Regions from separate parts of the Homo sapiens genome. Here region 2 is linked to region 1. The links are contacts of gene promoters, found by promoter capture Hi-C in blood cells and fetal thymus (Javierre and others, 2016). All regions are on one chromosome and are shown on one strand. The core of a region is centred on a gene start or on the middle of the fragment in contact, and the rest is flanking DNA. Distances in the headings are between cores, read along the strand shown. Region 1 holds the start of GPC6-AS1 (GPC6 antisense RNA 1). Region 2 overlaps GPC5 (glypican 5).

The links. Contacts are between HindIII fragments. The CHiCAGO score rates a contact against its expected background, and 5 or more counts as called.
Region 2: a contact is called between a fragment that was not itself captured here and the fragment with the promoter of GPC6-AS1 in region 1, in 2 of 17 cell types (M2 macrophages and M0 macrophages). The highest score is 6.5, in M2 macrophages.

What each region holds. Positions count from the first base shown.
Region 1 is chr13:94,185,989-94,189,827 of GRCh38, forward strand. It overlaps GPC6-AS1 (GPC6 antisense RNA 1), which reads right to left and starts at 2,003. Exons shown (of 4, transcript NR_046535.1): 1 at 1,883-2,003; 2 at 1,236-1,385; 3 at 918-1,130. The region is part of intron 4 of GPC6 (glypican 6); the gene reads left to right. RefSeq lists an enhancer at 2,159-3,074. The HindIII fragment of the contact is 1,586 bases long and covers 783-2,368 here.
Region 2 is chr13:92,173,213-92,177,051 of GRCh38, forward strand. All of the region lies in intron 7 of GPC5 (glypican 5), which reads left to right. Among named protein-coding and RNA genes, the nearest start is that of GPC5-AS2, 180 kb to the right of the region's middle. The HindIII fragment of the contact is 3,535 bases long and covers 1-3,364 here.

The DNA.
Region 1 (3,839 bases), core at 753-3,252:
GGCGGAGCTTACAGTGAGCCGAGATCGCACCACTGCACTCCAGCCTAGGTGACAGAGCGAGACTCCGTCTCCAAAAAAAAAAAAAAAAAAAAGGTTTTCTTACTGAGAAATTATTTTAAGATATATGTTCACATAGACCTTTCCAGAAGAAAACTGAAAAGAGGTAAAGGGTAGTCTAACTCACAAATATAAATAGAGAAACACAATGCATATTTACTCAGCAATCTTTTAATATGAGGTCATATTATTGGAATAGGAGTTTACCAGTTGGATTTCGGCATGATTTTTCTTGCACAAAACACAAAGCAGTAACTATAATTTCTGCCTTTAGCTTTTGAAAAACTAAAAGAACTTAAAGATGCTTGCAAGCCAACAAGAGCAGAGTCCCATTTTCCTCCTTCTTTAAATTTCGTATCATTGTCTTACCTTTACCAAGATTTTTCAACCATTCTACTTCACCCAGTCTTTCCAAAGTACTTAATTTTTTTTCTAAATTGATATTTAATGGGTTGCTCAATTTTACAAATAACATAAGAAGGTTTAGGGTCACCGCAACAGATTCTTTGAAACCATAAAATTCAACCCTTGGCTACGATGTTGGTGGGGGATTAAAGAGTAGCCTACCAGCCTCAAGTGGTCAAAATGACATGGACATTCTCACAGGCACTTTAAAGAAAAAAATGACGAGTTGGCTATATTTATGCATGCAGAATTATTTTTATAGAGTTCTATCTTGATTAAAACATAATTTAGTAGATTAAATATGCTATCTTCTTTGAGCAAGCTTTGGAAGACCAAGCTACTAGTAGAATTATACCAGAGTTAGGATACTGCCCTCTGCATACACTCAAATAGCAGGCCAGAATCCCAATAGAAAATGAGCATGCTTAGCTATGTTTCTGTAGTATGGAACTTACGAAGGTTCGATTCTTGATTTCTCATATGAATCAGAGCTCTCTCTCTCCTTTCCAGTGTGACCCAGTTGTATTTTGCATAGGCAGATGGTTTGAAGGAAAATTCCAGATTATTAGCATTTGCACTGGAGCTTGACAATCACCTTTATGAACCTGCTCTTGGAATAGCAGCCTTGGAAGATCCTGGAGTCAATCTCCTTTTATTTCAGATGAAAACTGATGACAGGGAAAGAGCCCAGGAAGAAAGTTTTTATTCTTGGTGCCTTGGGCAACGTGTGTATCCTCCCTCAAAAGAAGGCTTGGAGCAAAATGAACACTTACAGGAAACTGAGGCTCGTATGTTTTATGCAGTGAATCACCGGCATAATTGGAATTCTAACCTCGAAATTTTATTTCCAAATTTGACTGGCTCCACTCCTTATACATCAAATTGATCAAAGCAGAAATTACAGATTCAAATTTATGGTAAAGCTAAGAAAAAGAAAGCAGAACGATGAGTCAGAAGGTAAGAGGCCACGTAACCCAATATTTTTTTAGCATAAAGCATTCACGAATTTTACTGGCACCTCAACTAAAATGATGTTCTTTTAAAATCGTGTCACTTGATTATAAACATCTTGTTTTAAAAATGGAACATATAATCCAACATCCCCCAAATTTCTAGACTAATTCAAACATAAGAGTTGATCTTAATATGGATTTAGGTATTCAACAAATACTTATAGAGTGTCCACTATCGGGCAAACATTGTTCTAGGTGCTGGAGTTACAACAGTGAACAAATAGGCAAAACCTTTACCCTCATGAGGCTTAGAGTCCAGTGGAAAGGAAAAGACCAAAAATAAGATAAGAAAACTTTATGGAAATATATAAACATACATAGGTATGTCTATATAATACACTGTGATATACCTAGTAAGATATATATAGTTTTGAGAGAAAAACATGGCTAACTTGTTTGTGCCTTACCTTGTCATACAGAATTAGAATATTATCCATACTGAATTCCTGGGCCCAGCCCTGGCCAGTGTCTCTGCCATTTTATGGGGTACATTATCTCTGCTGAGCTAAGTAATTGCTAAATCCACACTGGAGGCTGTGTGAGTAGAGAAGTGACACACCAGTTAACAGGGTGAGAAATTAATGCAAATTAATTCTCCACCCTCCCAGCAGACACTGCTCCCACTTTCTTGCCCTTCTCCATCCCCCTGCCAGTTCACAGAGAAAAGTATGAATATTACAAATGATACTCACTTCATGTCTCAGTGACCTAGAAAGGAGTGTGTGCACTAAGGTGCAGCAGTGCTTTAATGACGCTGAGCCCAAAAGCAAGGCAGTGACACAAAGAGGGGAGTGGTGTCACTGAGAGGAAGGCCCAAGCACTTTCCCCTTCTGCACCTCTTCCCAGGAGACAGGGGTGAGTTAAGGCAGCACAAGGTCACTGGGATTGCCTGAAGCTTGACCACAGGCACGAGTGACTTTCCTCTTGGCTGGTACCATCTGTATAGGGGAATAGAAGATTTTTATCATAACAAAGGATATCTCAATAGAGTCAATTAGCCCAGCATGCCTCAGAGAGTTCTGTGATGTGAGTGGTCACTTCTTTGAACTAAAGTTGAATAAAGAAAAAAAGAAAGTGAAATCATTTCAGTTACAAAGAACCTAGCACTGCATTCTATAAGGTTTTATCATTCAGATTTGGAAGGAGACGGGAGCCATGGTGGATGCCGTGAGGTGTCACCAGATCCCTTTGTGGGACTATATCCATCCCCCACCCTCCAGCTGTTCTGAGGATTGGCTGCTCACCTCTGTCCCCTTCTTTAGGGACCTCTGTATCTGGAGAGGCACTTGCACCACACCCCATCCCATAGCTGGTGACCGATTTGTTATCAGAGCTCCTTCATACTAAAGAAAGAGAGACTGAGACTCAAGCTGCTGAAGAGCTTTCCTCAAAGTCTCACAATCTGGTCAGTCGTCAAAGGAGTCTGTCTGACTCCAAATCCATCCTCTCTCCCCTCAATCGTATAGTTGCTTTATTCTCTTCTAGTGCTGTGGAGAAGCAGCCCCAGTTTGCCACTGAATAATAAGCGTCCCCACCATTTCCTTTCCCCATTGTTGTTATAGGGATTCCTAATATGTGTTGCTAAGGCTTCACCTTATATCACCCAGAAGCTCTAACCTGTGGCTTCCTCAAGAGACATTATCCCTGAAAAACGGGTAGAAATTCAGGAAACTGCTTACTCAATTTCTCAGGTGGTGGCGGATGTTTTCTTCCTTATTCTTTGTTTTCTGCTTGGTAAGTCTGTGTGTAGGTGGTTTAATTGTGCTGAACAGATTCTTTCTCTCCTCTGTACAAAATGGGCTTTGGGGGTGGACAGGAGGAGGAAGAGAAAGATGTGAGTTTCACATAAGAGCAGAGGGATCCTTAGCCTGTCAGCTGAGAAACGAGGACTGTGTATTCCTGAGTAGTGCCTCCTGCCTTTCAAGCCTGGAAAGAGAACAGGAGAGGGAGGCATGCTCCCCACCCTGGGATGTTCCCTTTACTGCTACCACTTATTGCTTTACTGGACATCATAAAGATTGCAAGATGGACGGAATTTATTTGGATAAAAAGCAGTGGATGTTGGGTATAAGTAAATTAGCAACAGGTGATAGATTCTGAACATAGGACACCTCTAGATTGTTATGTCAATCCACACATTCCTTGCAATGTCAAGGAAGGAGTAAATTTTCCAGATAAATTAAACAATTAAAAGAGTATCAAAACTTAAAAAATTCATTCCATTTTGTGGAGATCTTTCCATGATCCAACATCTCTTCTCATTAAAATGTATGCAGAGCCAGGCGCGGTGGCTTACGCCTGTAATCCCCACACTTTGGGAGACCGACGCGGGCAGATCACAAGGTCAGGAGATCAAGACCATCC
Region 2 (3,839 bases), core at 347-2,846, 2.0 Mb before region 1:
ACCCACATTAAAAACAGAGATCGGCCATTCTCACCTAGGTCATTAAATTTGTTTTCCTGGCCACCTTTCATTTAGCCTGATGCTTTTCCGCTTAGGTGTGTCGATTCTGGGTTTTTAGGAAATGAAGTCCTTCATGTTGACTGTGGTATGTGAAGACCCTGATATCTCTGCTGCTCTGACCCCATTAAACTTTCAGATTTTACTGCCATATTGCTTTTGTACATGTGCTTTTGTTTCATGTACCTCATGTGCCATGAGGACACTCAGTGGGGAGTCTGGCACCTGCCTGGACAAACCCTTTCCTTTTGTTCTTCCTCTTAATGAAATACTTTCTATCAAAATTACTTATTCAAATTTTGCTAATTTTTTAGGAGTTGGTTTAATAAAGTGTTCTTTAGTACCTCTAACAGAAAACCATTTCTTTCATTAAAATGCAATGAGCAAAAACCTAGTGTCACTTGTGTGCCACGTCTCACATTCTATAGTATATAATAATTATTTATATGAACACTCATCTCCCCTTACTAAGACCCTTGATGTAATCAATATACTTTTATTATTATGAGCCAACAAATATTTGCAGAATGTGGAAGGCAATATTAAGACATCTAGGCCAGGCTTGGTAGCACACACCTAATTCCCAGCACTTTGGGAAGCCGAGGAAGGTGGATCACTTGAGGTCAGGAGTTTGAGACAAGCCTGGCCAACGTGGTGAAACCCCATGTCTACTAAAAATACAAAAATTAGTTGGGTGTGGTGGCACCCACCTGTAGTCCCAGCTACTGAGGAAGTTGAGGTGGGAGGATCACTTGAGTCCAGGAGACAGAGGTTTCAGTGAGCCAAGGTGAAACCACTGCACTCTAGCCTGGGTGACTGAGTGAGAGACCCCGTCAAAAAGAAAGGAAAAGAAAAGACATCTTTGGATATTCTTAGGCTTGCTGATAAAAGTCATCTTTACGTCATTAAAAAAATATGTGTCTATGTATATTTATTTCATGTATATATTAAATAGAAAGGCCAAAATTTGGGCCGGGTGTGGTGGCTCACACCTGTGATTCCAGCGCTTTGGGAGGCCGAGACAGGTGGATCACGAGGTCAGGAAATTGAGACCATCCTGGCTAACACGGTGAAACCCTGTCTCTACTAAAAACACAAAAAAAAAAACAAAAAAAAATGGCCGGGTGTGGTGGCGGGCATCTGTATTCCCAGCTACTCGGGAGGCTGAGGCAGGAGAACCGCGTGAACCCGGGAGGCGGGGCTTGCAGTGCGCAGAGATCGCACCACTGCATTCCAGCCTAGGCGACAGAGCGAGATTCCAACTCAAAGAAAAAAAAAAAACAAAAACAACAACAACAACAAAAAAAACAAAATTTAAATAACTCATTACTTCATTCATACATTTATCCACCTATACACTTCTTTACTTAAAAACAGCAAAAAGTATTAATCACTTTATTGAGCACCTTGCTGGGCATCAGGAATAAAAAACAGATTAGTCAAAAATACGGTTCTATTCCTCAAGGTTAAAATAGTGTGCAGAAGAAAAAACAAATAGCGATGTCATAGAATTTAAAATGTTATCGTAAAGTGCAGAGTACCATTAAAATAACACACTGTGAGACTTCGAAAAGTCCTCCCTTGAACCTTCATTTTTGAGACAGAGTTTCGCTCTTATAGCCCAGGCTGGAGTGCAGTGGCCCCTTCTCAGCTCATCGCAACCTCTGCCTTCTGGGTTCAAGCGATTCTCCTGTCTCAGCCTCCCGAGTAGCTGGGGTTACAGGGATGCGCCACCACGTCCTGCTAAATTTTTTTGTAGTTTTAGTAGAGACGGGGTTTCTCCATGTTGGTCAGGCTGTTCTCAAACTCCCGACCTCAGGTGATCAACCCGCCTTGGCCACCCAAAGTGCTGGGATTACAGGCGTGAGCCACTGTGCCTGGCCGAACTTTGATTTTTTCATTAGAATTTCTGGAAACATTATTTTATTATATGTTGGCATATTAGTGAAACATATATTTATTAACCTGTTTTCAGATTTAATGGTGACCCTGTATGTTTGTTTCTGTTTATCGATATCTAGCTATAGTTATGTTTACATCTATACCATATTTTGTATCTATACATATATAAAAGCATCTAAATAGGGCTTGACACCTAATTGGAATTCAATAAGTGTTTGCTTCTTTTCTGATTCTAGATTATGTCAAAATTTAGTAGTGCGTTCTAATAAAGTTGAAGAACATTTGAATAGGAGGTTATGATGACATCACTGTGATGCCTACTGCTGTAGTCCAGCTATCTAAGAGCTGAATTGCTTTCAGTTTTATCTGCGGTTCTAAAGTTGGTGGGCGCCCCTTTGGAAACGTTTACTGAACTCTTGGTACAGAGGCCACTAGATGGGGCTTGTGGGCTTAGTACTTTATAGTTTAGAAAAGTCACTTAAAAAAACTCAGACTTCTCTTTAACCTATTCTGTTCTTTATTAACTGTAACACTGTGAGCAATTATAATTAGAAATCTTTTTATATTAGCAAGTGTGAAACCTAACTATTGCCCTTGCAAATATGTGATATTCCTCAAAGAAAAAAAAAACATCTCCCTACAGCCAGGCACATTTATCTCTTTAGAGGCTAAATACAAGACCCCGTTACCAATTTAATAGTAGTTTTCAAACCTGTCTCCTCATATAGAAGAATCTCAGATACAGAATCCTGGAAGCTCTGTTCCTACTTTTTAGGTTTCAGATTCAATGGTGACTCTGTATGTTTGTTTCCATTTATCTATATCTAGCCAGAAACATGCTTTACCATTATCATGAAGTTTGCTCCTTACCCATTGCTAGTGTTTGTTTTCCTCTAAGACAGTGGTTCTCAAATTTTAATGTGCATCAGAATCACCATATATCGTGAAGGACTTTAGAAAATACAAATTACTGTCCACAACCCCAGAATTTCTAATTCAGTAAGTCTAGGATGGAGCCGGTGACTCTGAATTACCAAAAAATGCTCAGATGATGATGGCACTGCTTATCCAGAGACTACACCTTAAGGAGTTCTGTTGTATGCTAAGGCTCTCCCTGGATAAAGTACATACCTTTCATGAGGTAGCCCTTGTGTCTCAAGACAGCTTCCTGTCACACTGCAACATTCATCTCTCCAGGCACTGAGACTGGGACAAGGACGAGAAGTAAGTGGTGGTTTGTGTTTTCTTTGCATTTATGCTCCTAACCACTGGGTACACAGCACACTAAGTTAGATAAGGTTCAACCTCAACAACAGACCAGGGGCACCTGTCTGCATCTTCTAACAACCAATAGCTAATGCTCATTTGAAAAAAAATAAATGAAGGGTTTGACCCAAGGCATCAAAGCTTTGGATTCTGATTTTCCTTTGTCTCAATGGCTTTTAGATTTCTAAGACCTCCCTTTCCGTTTCTCTCCATCTGACCTCCAACCTTCCCCAGATTCCTAATCCCACCATTTTTGAACCTCCCTCCAGAGTGCCTGGAGCTAGGCCCAGTGGTTCCTCACCTCAACGGCCACATCCAAGCACTTCTCAGCCCCTAGTTTACTGATTTCCAGCACACTACCAGGCACCACTTTACCTTTACTGGAGACCTAGGTATACACTGCTTCTTTACATACTGTATCTACAGCTGGATAATTCAATTCTCCATCTATTTATCCCTTCATCAGTCATTAACTACCAATGATATAACAGGCACTGCTTCACCCTGCCACTATGCTATAGTTGTAAACAAGCCAGACATGACCTCCCATCTTTTGCTATTTCCGTCATTGTTTTGACTGATCTATCTTTTTGGATTTTGGATACCCTTATTTC